Regions from separate parts of the Homo sapiens genome. Here region 2 is linked to region 1. The links are contacts of gene promoters, found by promoter capture Hi-C in blood cells and fetal thymus (Javierre and others, 2016). All regions are on one chromosome and are shown on one strand. Each heading gives the region's core, a stretch centred on a gene start or on the middle of the fragment in contact. The rest is flanking DNA. Distances are from core to core; before and after follow the strand shown.

Evidence for each region. The method cuts DNA at HindIII sites, captures the fragments that hold promoters and counts their contacts. A CHiCAGO score of 5 or more calls a contact.
Region 2: a contact is called between a fragment that was not itself captured here and the fragment with the promoter of ERAS in region 1, in 10 of 17 cell types (M0 macrophages, naive CD8 T cells, naive CD4 T cells and 7 more). The highest score is 8.7, in M0 macrophages.

The regions. Positions count from the first base shown.
Region 1 is chrX:48,825,156-48,831,232 of GRCh38, reverse strand. It overlaps ERAS (ES cell expressed Ras), which reads right to left and starts at 4,720. Exons shown (of 2, transcript NM_181532.3): 1 at 4,684-4,720; 2 at 1,364-2,152. The coding sequence starts at 2,109. The coding sequence ends at 1,408. It overlaps PCSK1N (proprotein convertase subtilisin/kexin type 1 inhibitor), which reads left to right. Exons shown (of 3, transcript NM_013271.5): 3 at 1-137. RefSeq lists an enhancer at 1-301 and a silencer at 4,853-4,902. The HindIII fragment of the contact is 5,532 bases long and covers 716-6,077 here.
Region 2 is chrX:48,652,416-48,658,492 of GRCh38, reverse strand. All of the region lies in intron 1 of LOC124905186 (a long non-coding RNA gene), which reads right to left. Among named protein-coding and RNA genes, the nearest start is that of WAS, 28 kb to the left of the region's middle. The HindIII fragment of the contact is 2,419 bases long and covers 1,625-4,043 here.

The DNA.
Region 1 (6,077 bases), core at 3,471-5,970:
GACCCAGAAGTGCCCCCGCCATCCCGCCACCAGGACTGCTCCCCGCCAGCACGTCCAGAGCAACTTACCCCGGCCAGCCAGCCCTCTCACCCGAGGATCCCTACCCCCTGGCCCCACAATAAACATGATCTGAAGCAGCTCTGTGCTTGTCTGTGTGAGTGGCAGTTTCTAGGGGCTGGTGGTTCCCCGCGGTGGTGGTTGCCCTTAGACCAGGAGAGAGGAGACTCTACCCTGGGTCCTGCACTTTAGAGCAATCACCTGCTCAGTCTATGTCTCTCCTAGGGGTGGAGGGGAAGACATCCACATGGACAATCGCGGATCTTGTGTCCCCCTTTTAGGCCTCACTTGGGTATGGGGATCCCAGGCTTTGAGGCCACTTTCAGGGCCTGCACCATCATCTTCCAAGGGACCATCCTCCTGAGGGCCAAGGGGTGGCTTTGTGGGGCACGTGAGTAGAGCTTGAGGTGCTGGCTGGGATGTCGCAGGCACACATGAACACCTCCTGATGTGGGGAAGAGAAAAGGAGAGAGCGGAGAGAAAGGGAGAGGGCACTGAGGGTCGGGAGGCCCCAGTACAGGCACACTCTTTGGCAGACAGGCACATTCTGGCAGGGAACTCTGAGAAGGCTGAGAAATTGGAGCCTGGGTATCCAGGTCACTAATAAAGTGTATTTGCCAAAGTAGGATAGGGTGTATTTCATTTACTTTGTAAAGCTTGATTCGTAATGTCTGAACGTTTACATATTTAGTTATGTAGTGTAGAGGCCTACCTGTACTCTTGCTCCAGGCCCTGGATATACTGAGGGTTGCTGTGGTGGCAGCTGATTTGTGGCCATGGTCTTTGCACTGGCTAGTCCCTCTGCCTCTGGATATCTTCAGGTTTTTGTCCAGATGTCACCTACTCTCAAGAAGGCTTTCCTGGACCTGTCACCCTATTCCTTCACCTGCCTTTAACACGTAGCCTTTATCACTATCTAGCCTGATGCCATATCTATAAGGGCAAGGATTTTTAAGTGTCTTGTTTGCCTCTACCTCCCTTATATATAAAGCGGAGCCTAGCACACAGTGGGCTCCCCCTGAATTTCTTGAATGAAAGAATTCTCACAACTCAAGTAACATTCTACCCAGTCTCACTCCCACCCACACAACACTCGGCATGGAGGCAGCTTTGAAACCCAAAACACCATTTATTTAATTTTGCACAAAATCTTTCAACTTGACATAACAAAAGCAACATTAGGCACTCCCATGTTACCAAAAAGCCCCTCACCAAGTGAAAACAAGAGAGATGTCCATCTTTCCCTAGTATACCTGATGTGTCCCTCAAAGCTAGTTGCCTCAGGGGTCTCATGTCAAATGAACAATCACCCTGGCCTGGGGAAAGGTCTACATTTCTTGGCCAAGACCTTCAGGCCACAGAGCAGCCACAGTGGCAGGTGGCCTTCTGGTGCCGGGTCTTCTCCCTACAGGACCTTGCCATGGGCTCCTTCGCCATGGCCTCCTGGACCCTCTGGATCTCATGGACCAGCAGGGAAAAGGCCTCCTCCACGCCTTGCCGTGTTTTGGCCGAGGTCTCCACGAAGTGGGCCCCCCAGCTGTGTGCGAGGGCTGCAGCAGCGGCATGAGCATCTCCAGCAGTGGTCACAAGGTCACACTTGTTGCCCACGAGGACAAGGGGCTGGGCGGGGTGAGGGCCCCAGGTGGCCCATATCTGCTGCAGCTGGATCAGAGACGAGGGGTCATCGAGAGCGAAGACGCCCAGCACACCATCACAGACAGCCAGGCACTGGTCACGCAGGGCCCTATGGATGGCCTGCCCTGCTGTGTCCAGCACATTCAGAATGCAGTCCCCACTGTCCAGGGTCAACTCCTTCCAGTAGGAATCCTGGATGGTGGGGTCGTGGTCCTCCACGAAGCACTGGTGGTTCAGCTGGATGGTCAGCGCACTCTTGCCCACGCCACTGGCGCCCACCACCACAGCCTTGTACTCAGGCAGCTGCCTGCCAACATCCCTGCGGCGTGCCTGAGCCCGGTGGGTTTCCCCCTGGAAGGAAGGGCTCCATGTGGCCAGGCCCAGGTCGAAGGTGCCAGGCTTTGTTGGCAGCTCCATGACCCCAGCAGGCAGCTCAGGGAAGAGACGTGGGCAGCAGGCTCTGCAAGTGGGAAGAGAAGAAGCAAGACAACAGGGGATACGTTAGGGGAGACCATTTGAGGGCAAGGAGACAGTGGGGTGTCATTATTTCAACATTTATTGAATGCCTATTGTGTGCTGATCACCTTCCAATTTGCATGCTATATATATATGATTTATGTTGTTTTCTCCCTGTCCCACGTCCCCCCATCTCTCCTTCCCTCCTCACGCGAATCAACAACTGTGAAGGCTGGATTTCCCAAACAGCTTTATTGAGATGTAATTTACATCCCATCAAGTTCAGCCAGCTAGTGTCCAATTTAACGGGTTTTAGCATATTCACGAAGTTGTGCAACTATCACCATAAGTAAATTTTAGAACATTTTCCTCACCCAGAAAAGAATCCCCATGCCCATTAGCAGTTCCTCCCCATGACAGAGGGAGGGCAGGATTTTGCCGGTTTTGGTCACCATTGAACCCTAGCCCAGCACAGTGCCTGCCAGACAGTAGGGACCCAACATTCCCACCCCCAGAAGGTTTATGTTCTAAAAGGCAGAGGCAGATAATATAATAAACCAAATAAATATGTAAATCACGTGGTCTGTTAGCCATTATCATTAGAATGTAGTCTTTATTAATTATTCAACATACATTTATTGGGAACCTACTGTGTGGCAAGGACATGGAGTTGGGCAATAAATAGACAACAAACTGTAGCCCTCATGAAGGTTATATTCTGGTCGGGGTGAGAGACAACAAACTAGGTTAAAAAGGGGGCGGGGCACAATGGCTCACGCCTGTAATCCCAGCACTTTGGAGGCCGAGTCGGGTGGATCACCTGAGGTCAGGAGTTCGAGACCAGCCTGCCCAACATTGCGAAACCCTGTCTCTAATAAAAACACAAAAAAATTAGCCAGGAGTGGTGGTGGACGCCTGTAATCCCAGCTACTCGGGAGGCTGAGGCAGAAGAATCGCTTGAACCCGGGAGGCGGAGGTTGCAGTGAGCTGAGATCACACCACTTGCACTCCAGCCTGGGAGATAAGAGCAAAACTCCGTCTCAAAAAAAAAAAAAAAAAAAAAGTGAACTATATGTCAGTAGCGGGTGATAAGCATGCAGAAGGTGCTCAGTTCATGCCAGGCTTTTAAATTATAATTTAATCTCCATTCATTAATTCAAGAATCTTCCTTCGTGCCAGGCATTGTGATATGGCAGTTAACAAAACAGACCCCAGTCCCTGCCCTTGTGAGGATTGGATTCTGGCAGAGAGAAAGAGACAGTAACAAGATAAGGAACAAGGAAGTTGCATGTTCGAAGAGGATGGGCACACGGCAGGTGGTCAATTAGTGTTAGTTATTAGCAGCACATCCCCATTCACTCAGTGAATGCCCCTCGGTGTCCTTGGGCTCAGGAAGTGCCCTGCTTAGTGCATCCTAATGGCTGTTGCCACGACTCCCCTCCGAAAGCCTGGCGCAGCGGCAGTTTGGGGGCGGATGGTGGCTTCGAGGTTTGGTGGAGCTGGAGATCCGGAGGTCGGAGTCGGGGCAAGGTCCCAAATGGGGATGCGGCCGCGGCGTCCTCAGCTCTGAGGGATCCCTGGGAATAGTCACTGGCGGCGTTGGCCCAGAAGGAGCGGGGGCGGGATAAAGAGAGCAGGAAGCGGAGGACGGAGCTTGGGGGTCCCCGACGGTTGGGGACAGGAAGAAGACCTGGAGGACTGCGGGGAGGGGCGAGGCGGCGGCGCACGTGGAGGGAGAGGTCGGCTTCTGGGGGTCCTGTAGGGGTGCCCGGCCATCTTTAGGGATGGGTCAGAAGGCAGAGGCGGGGTCGAGGCTGCCTCTTAAGTCGGGGTCTGAGCGGCTGGAGTCTGGGGGCGCCGACGGTGAGGAAGGAAAAGCCCGGGGCCTGGCCGAGTGGCGGAGCGCAGCTTCCACCCCAGGTGCCTGGCGGGACGGGGCCACACTCGCCCAGTCCCCGCGACGCGCAGGGAGGCCGCGGCCCTGGTCCCCAAGGCTCCGCTCCCGGGAGGAGCCCGAGGCGCAGAGGCACGTGCCGAGGGCACTGGCCCGGGGCCTCAGCCCGCGGGAGGCGCCGGAGATTGGGGGCTCGGTCCTCTCAAGTGGCGCGGAGCCCCCGGCGGGTCCCCGTGGCCGCGCGCTCAGAGCCGCTGGGACCAGGTTGGGGGGCTTCGCCCAGCTCACCAAGGCTGGCGCGCTAAGGGGCCGGGACCTGGGGTTAGGGCGGCCTCGCCAGGTCGTGCTTTCCCGGACGAGGCCGGGTGAGGTGCAAAGCTCGGAGTGCGGAAGGGTCCCCGAAACCAGGACTCCACTTCGGGCTCGGTGTGAGCAGCGTCGCCCGGGCATCCTGTCAAGACCCATCCCGACTCCGGGTGAGGCGGCCCCGCTTCCAGCCAAGCGCCGACACCCCTCCCGGCCGGCCGAGTGAGGGGCCGCTCGCCCGGGAGAAGGCTTGGCGCTTGGGGGACGATCCCCCAAAGCCGGCGCGGGGATACCCCCAGGCCTGGCAGGGCCAGGGGCACCGGCGCCTCGCTCACCTGTGTCCGTGGGGAGGCGGGCGCGCTGGGACGCTCTGACAGGCCTGGCGGGGGGCGACGCTGCTCCCCGGGGCACCCCGGCGGCGGTTGGGGGAGTGGACATGCGCAGCCGCCCTCCCTCGGCTCCTCAGGCCGCCCACCCCCCTGCGCCGCGCCCCTGCCCCTGCCACTGCCCCGCCCCTGCCCGTGCCATTGCCCCGGGGGAGCAAGGGGTCGTGCCCCCCCAGGCGGCTTGCGCACAGGCACGTGGGTGCCACAGCGGCCTCTAGGGGTGCACGGACGGCGGCCAAACCTCCCCGTGTGTCCCCTGTGGCGCCTCTCCCTTGCTTTCCTGTTGGTGGTGTGTGTGTGTGGGAGAGTTGGGTGTTAGATTTTGACCAGGATGGCCTGACTTTGGGAACGGTTTTGTGGGAAGCTCTTTCAGGCCACAGAGCCTGTGCTGCCTCAACTCGGTTTTTTGGTAGCTCTGGAGAAAAGACAGTGACAGAGGAGGGGTCATTCTGTCAGGGAAGAAAGACCCTGATTGGAGGCGGCTGCCTGTCAAACTACACATTTCCCAGGCTCCCTTGCAGCTATGGCAACCACATGCACAGTCCTGATCAATGAGAGGGCAGCAGAGGTGGGGCATCCAGAGGGCTCTTAAAACAGGGCAGCCCCTGGCCCGGGAGTGGTGGCTCACACCCATAATCCCAGCACTTTGGGAGACCAAGGCCAGCGGATCACCAGGTCAGGAGTTTGAGACCAGCCTGCCCAATATGGCAAAACCCCGTCTCTACTAAAAATACAAAAATTAGCCAGGTGTGGTGGTAGGCACCTGTAATCCCAGCTACTCAGGAGGTTGAGGAAGGAGAATCACTTGAACCTGGGAGGCAGAGGCTGCAATGAGCCGAGATCGTGCCACTGCACTCCAGCCTGGGTGACAAGAGCAAGACTCCATCTCAAAAAACAAAACAAAACAAGAACGGGGCAGCCCCGGCCCTTCCCCATCCCTCCTCTTCTTGACTCAGTAAGGCTGTGGTGGTCAGCTTGGGATCATAAGGTGGCCATGAAGAAAAGTCCTGGAAACCTCAGATCCAACTCCCTTGAGCTGCCAAAGCAATTCTCACCACGTGGGAGAAATTCAGCTCTCAGACTGTCCTCCAATTTCCCACCTGTGGTCAATGGCAGGCACCCCTTCTGCCAAGAAGCTACCATGACCACCACATTCAAGTTAAACCTGGACCTCCCACCATCCCCAGTCAGGCCAATGAGACAGTGGGGAAACAGGCCTGGTAAGGATACTTCCTGCTAGTTTTCTTGCCTTCTCAGCCTAGGGTGTGGGTGTGGCTGGGACTGGCTGTGAGGCTCCTATTTATAAGGCAAGCACCCATTTTCTCATGGATTCTACCATTTTA
Region 2 (6,077 bases), core at 1,585-4,084, 170 kb after region 1:
TCTCTACTAAAAATACAAAAATTAGCTGGGCATAGTGGTGTTTGCCTGTAATCCCAGCTACTCAGGAGGCTGAGGCAGGAGAATCGCTTGAACCCAGGAGGCGGAGGTTGCAGTGAATGGAGATGGTGCCACTGCAGTCCAGCCTGGACGACAGAGTGAGACTCTGTCTCAGAAAAATATAAATACATAAATAAATAAATAAAAGGGACCCCAGAGAGTTCTTTCCACAATGTGAGGATACAATGAAAATTTAGCTGTCAGCAACCCTAAACAGCATCCCTACCAGAACCTGACCATGCTGGAACCGTAATGTCAGACTTCCAACCAGAACTGTTAAGAGAGAAATTTCTGTTGTTTATAAGCCACCCAGTCTATGGCACTTTGTTATACCAGTCAGAACTGACTAAGACAGAAATTGGTACTGAGAAGTGAGGGGTGCTATGTAACGAATACCTAAAAATGTGGAAGTGGCCTTGTAATTGTAATGACTAGAGGCTGGAAGAGTGCCATGGTTTGAATGTTCCCTCCAAAACTCATGTTGACCTTTAATTGCCATTGTAACAGTATTGAGAGGTGGGGTCTTTAAGAAGACATTAGGTCATGGGGCTGTCACCTTCATGAATGGACTAATGCTGTTATTGTGGGAGTGGCTTTGTTATAAAAGTGAGCTGTCTCTCGCATGCACCCTCTTGCCATTCTGTCTACCCATGATGGGATGATGCAGCATGAAGGCCTCATCTGATGCTAGCACCATGCTCTTAGACTTCCCAGCCTCCAGAACTGTGAGCTTGTTAAGCTTCTTTTTAAAATTATTTTTATTTTTTATTTTTTTGAGACAGAATCTCACTCTGTCACCCAGGCTGGAGTGCAGTGGCACGATCTCTGCTCACTGCAACCTCTGCCTCCCAGGTTCAAGCAATACTCCTGCCTCAGCCTCCCGACTAGCTGGGATTACACGCATTCATCACCAGGCCCAGCTAATTTTTGTATTTTTAGTAGAGATGGTGTTTCACCATGTTAGTCAGGCTGGTCTCAAACTCCTGACCTCAAGTGATCCACCCACCTTGGCCTCCCAAAGTGCTGGGATTATAGGTGTGAGCCACTGCACCTGGCTGAGCTTCTTTTCTTTATAAATTACCTGGTCTGTGGTATTCTGTTATAGCAACAGAAAACAGACTAAGACATAAATTTGGGTGCATGCGCTAGAAAAATCCTATATTGCCACCAGGTGCGGTGGCTCACACCTGTAATCCCAGCACTTTGGGAGGCCGAGGTGGATGGATTATGAGGTCAGGAGTTTGAGACCAACTTGACCACCACGGTGAAACCCCATCTCCACTAAAAATACAAAAAAAAAAAAAAAAATTAGCCGGGCGTGGTGGCGCACACCTGTAATCTCAGCTACTCAGGAGGCTGAGGCAGGAGAATTGCTTGAACCAGGGAGGTGGAGGTTGCAGTGAGCCAAGATTGCGCCACTGCACTCCAGCCTGGGCAACAGAGCAAGACTCCATCTAAAAAAAAGAAAAAGGAAAAAAAGAAAAATCCTATATTGCCATTGAATGGACCTTTAAAGGTGATTCTGATGAGCAGTCAGAAAGAAATGAGGAGAGCTGTAGAGAAAGCTTCTGCTTTCTTAAAGAATACATAAGTAATCATGAACAGATTGGTGGTAGAAATATGGGTGGTTAAAGGCTGTTCTGATGTGGTCTCAGGTAGAAATGAGGAACGTGTTATTGGACAGTGGAGAAAAGGTGATCCTTGTTATAAAGTAGCAAAGAACCTGGCTGAATTGTGTTTACGTTTTAGTGTTTTGTAGAGGGTAGGACTTGTGAACAGTGAAATGGAGATTTAGCTGAGGAGATCTCTAAGCAAAGTGTTGAAAGGAGAGGCTTGGTTCCTCCTGACTGCTTATAGTCAAATTTGAGAAGAGAGATATGAATTGAAAACAGAATTGTTATGCAAAAAGGAACCAGAACTTAAACTTACCCAAGCTATGAGGGTGACATTGCTCCCTCAGTGGGTCTGGAAAATTCTCAGCCTGTCCCTGTCCATATTACAAAACATGACAAAGCATGTTTGGAAGAGAACACTAAGGATCTGCTGGACTATTTGACAAGGAGATTACTGTGAATGTGAACTGTGGACTTCATTAACCATCTCAACAAAACAGCAATAGCGATGGGATTGTACTGGAAATGGCACTGCTGACTGGGACTAAAGGAAACAGAGAAAATGGGACAAAATGGCTGGGCACAGTGGCTCATGCCTGTAATCCCAACACTTTGGGATGCTGAGGCGGGTGGATCACCTGAGATCAGGAGTTCAAGACCAGCCTCACCAACATGGTGAAACCCTGTCTCTACTGAAAATACAAAAATTAGCCGGGTGCGGTGGTGCACGCCTGTAATCCCAGCTACTTGGGAGGCTGAGGCAGGAGAATCACTTGAACCCAGGAGGCGGAGGTTGCAGTGAGCTGAGATTGCACCACTGCACTCCAGCCTGGGTGCTGGGCAACAGAGGGAGACTCTGTCTCAAAAAAAAAAAAGAAAAAGAAAAAAAGAAAATGGGACAAAATGAAGGAAGATGATTAAACTTCTTAGATCCTATAGGACCAAACCATAGAACTATTCGGCTGTGAACACACACTGTTCTTCAAGATAAGGGAAGAAGAACCCTGAAGGTGATTCAGAGACCGTCCAGGTCACCAGTCCCATCAGAGGCCCAGAGTACATGGGCTTAGGGCATAGGACTACCTGCACCTCCATTTCTTTTTTTTTTTTTTTTTTGAGACAGAGTCTCGCTCTGTCATCCAGGCTGGAGTGCAGTGGCACAATCTTGGCTCACTGCAAACTCCGCCTCCCAGGTTCATGCCATTCTCCCACCTCAGCCTCCCAAGTAGCTGGGACTACAGGCGCCCACCACCACGCCCAGCTAATTTTTTGTATTTTTAGTAGAGACGGGGTTTCACCCTGTTAGCCAGGATGGTCTCGATCTCCTGACCTTGTGACTGGCCTGTCCTGGCCTCCCAAAGTGCTGGGATTACAGGTGTGAGCCACCACTCCCAGCCTCCACCTCCATTTCAAAGGGTGAGACCAATGCCCAGTAGAGCGGTGGGGATGGAGGCTCCCAGCAGAGCCCTGAGGCTACAACTCCTGCCCTGACAACCACAGCATGAGCAGTGAGTGCTGCCAAACTGTTGTTACCGGGCCGGGGGGTGGGGGTCCTTGCTTCCAGAGCTCCCAAGATGGTGGTGGGCTGCTTCCAAGATGGTGGCAAGCCTCGGGTTCTCTGACCTGGGGTTCTTGGCCTCACGGATTCCAAGGAATGGAGTCTTGGGCCATGCGTGAGTGTTATAGCTCTATTAAAAGCCGTGGGTCACGGAAGAGAACCGTGGAACCCAGTGACTAGTGTTCAGCTCGATTAGGACAAACACAGGCACTTAGCCATGCAGGAACAATGGCAAGCCTTTAGCCCGATCGGGAGCAGCAGTGGACGGCTTGCTGGATCAGGAGCACAGCGGACACCCTGCCGGATCTGGAGGGATGGAAGTCAATGGCGGGTCTGCGACGGCGGCAAACAGCAGTGGTGGACTGCAAGTGAAAGCTCAGCTCGAGCCGTAACAAACACGGACCAGAAGAGAGTGCAGCTGCAAGATTTAATAGAGTGAAAACAGAGCTCCCATACAAAGGGAGGAGACCCAAAGAGGGTAGCCGTTGCGGGCTCGAATGCCTGGGTTTATATCCCTATCATTGTCCCTCCCGCTGTGCTCTCAGGTGATAGATGATTAGCTATTTCTTTACCTCCTGTTTTTGCCTAATTAGCATTTTAGTGAGCTCTCTTTACTCCCTGATTGGTCGGGTGTGAGCTAAGTTGCAAGCCCCGTGTTTAAAGGTGGATTGCGGTCACCTTCCCACCTAGGCTTAGGGATTCTTAGTCAGCCTAGGAAATCCAGCTAGTCCTGTCTCTCACTGTGAGGGTGACATTGCCCCCTCAGTGGGTCTGGCATGAGGGACTGACACCCCAGTAGGTCTGGAGGCAAAGCTTCAAGCCAAAGAGGATTACCTGAGTCTCAAGATCTCACAGAACTTCCCTTGCTAGGTTTTGGACTTGCTTGGGACTTGTCACCCCGTCCTCCTTCCCTGTTTCTCCCTTTTGGAATGGGAATGTTTATAGACCCTCTTTGTGTCCCATCATTGTATTTTGGAAGCAAATACTTTGGTTTCTTTTAAGCAGCTGAAGAGGAATTTTGCTTCAGGGTGAGTTTCACCCATACCTGATTTAGATGATCTTTAGATGAGACTTTTGGCTTTAGACTTTAGAGTTCATACTGGAATGAGTTAAGATTTGGGGGGATGTTTGGATGGAATTGAATGTAGTTTGCATGTGAGAAGCACATGAATTGTCGGGGGCAGGCAGGTGTTGGAAGGCAATGGACTGAATGTTTGTGTTTTCCTGTCTTAGTCCAGTTTCTGTTGCTTATAACAGAATACCTGAAACTGGGTAATTTTAAAGGAAATGAATTTCTTTCTTACAGTTGTGGGGGCTGAGAAGTCTAAGGTCAAGGGGCTGCATCTGGTGGGGGACTTTTTGCTGGTGAGGACTCTGAAGAGTCCTGAGACAGTGCAGGGTATCACTTGGCAAGGGGCTGAGCGTGCTAGCTCAGATCCCTCCTCCTCCCTCCTGTTCCTCTTCTTCCTTTCTTTCTTTTTTTTTTTTTTTTGAGACAGAGTCTTGCTTTGTTGCCCAGGCTGGAGTGCAGTGGTGTGATCTCAGTTCACTGCAGCCTCCACCTCCTGGGTTCAAGAGATTCTCCTGCCTCAGCCACCCGAGTAGCTGGGATTACAGGCATGTGGCACCATGCCTGGCTAATTTTTGTATTTTTAGTAGAGATGGGGGTTTTGCCATGTTGCCCAGGCTGGTCTCGAACTCCCGACCTCAAGTGATCTGCCCACCTCAGCCTCCCAAGGTGCTGGGATTATAGGCATGAGCTACTGTGCCTGGCCTTAAAATACTTTCTAAAATGCTTAGATATTAGAGCTGCAAGGGCCCCTAGAGATCATCTGTGTCAGGGAGGACAAACCCTTTCTCTCACATCTTTATTCCTCACAACCCATGCTCAGGGCAGACATTGATATTTTGACTCAACCTGAAGATTTTTCTCATCCCTCACTTGGGACAGCTATTAAGCAGCCACCAGAGTTAGCACCTGGGGTTAGATTGTTTTAAAATATAACCAAGAATCTTTAAAAATTGAGGTATGGTGAGCCCAGCAGATCACAAGGCAACTGCCATTGAAAAGATAGTTTGTTACTCACAGTTCTCAAGAGGAGGGGGCTTGCCAAGCCATGGCCATGCAAGGGCCACATGGGAGGCACCAGGGTCAGTCAGGAGTCAGGAGTGAGGAGAAAGCATGGGCCCAGAGCCTTTATTGTAGGTTTTATGGGAAGGAATGGATGAGACAGGATTGGCAAGCTGAGAAACCTTAGGACTGGATAGTTTGAATGATTTTGGTGGGCTACAGGGTGGCCCCTAGTTGTTCAGTACCTGGCCCTGGAGGGGGAATATTGGCTGGTGTGTGAGAGTTAGAAAAAGGAGGTGGTTTGGGTATGGTCTCATGATTGTTGGTTTGCATATCAAAAGCATGCTCAGAGTCAAGTTCTGTAGGAATTAGTTAGCCCTGGGAGGGACAGTCTCTCCAAGATTAGCAAGGCCCCAAGATGTCAAAGCATCATGAAATACAGAAAATTAAAAAACACGATTAATGTGCATATCCATCCCCAGCCCTGATAACTGTAACACCTTCATAACAAAAGTGGAAACCTGGGCCGGGCGTGGTAGCTCACGCCTGTAATCCCAGCACTTTGGGAGTCCCAGGCAGGCTGATCACCTTAGGTCAGGAGTTCGAGACCATCCTGGCCAACATGGTGAAACCCCATCTCTACTAAAAAAAAAAAAAAAATTAGCTGGGCCTGGTGGTGCATGCCTGTAATTCCAGCTACTCAGGAGGCTGAGGCAGGAGAATCGTTTGAACCCAGGAGGCAGAGATTGCAGTGAGCCGAGATCACGCCATTGCACTC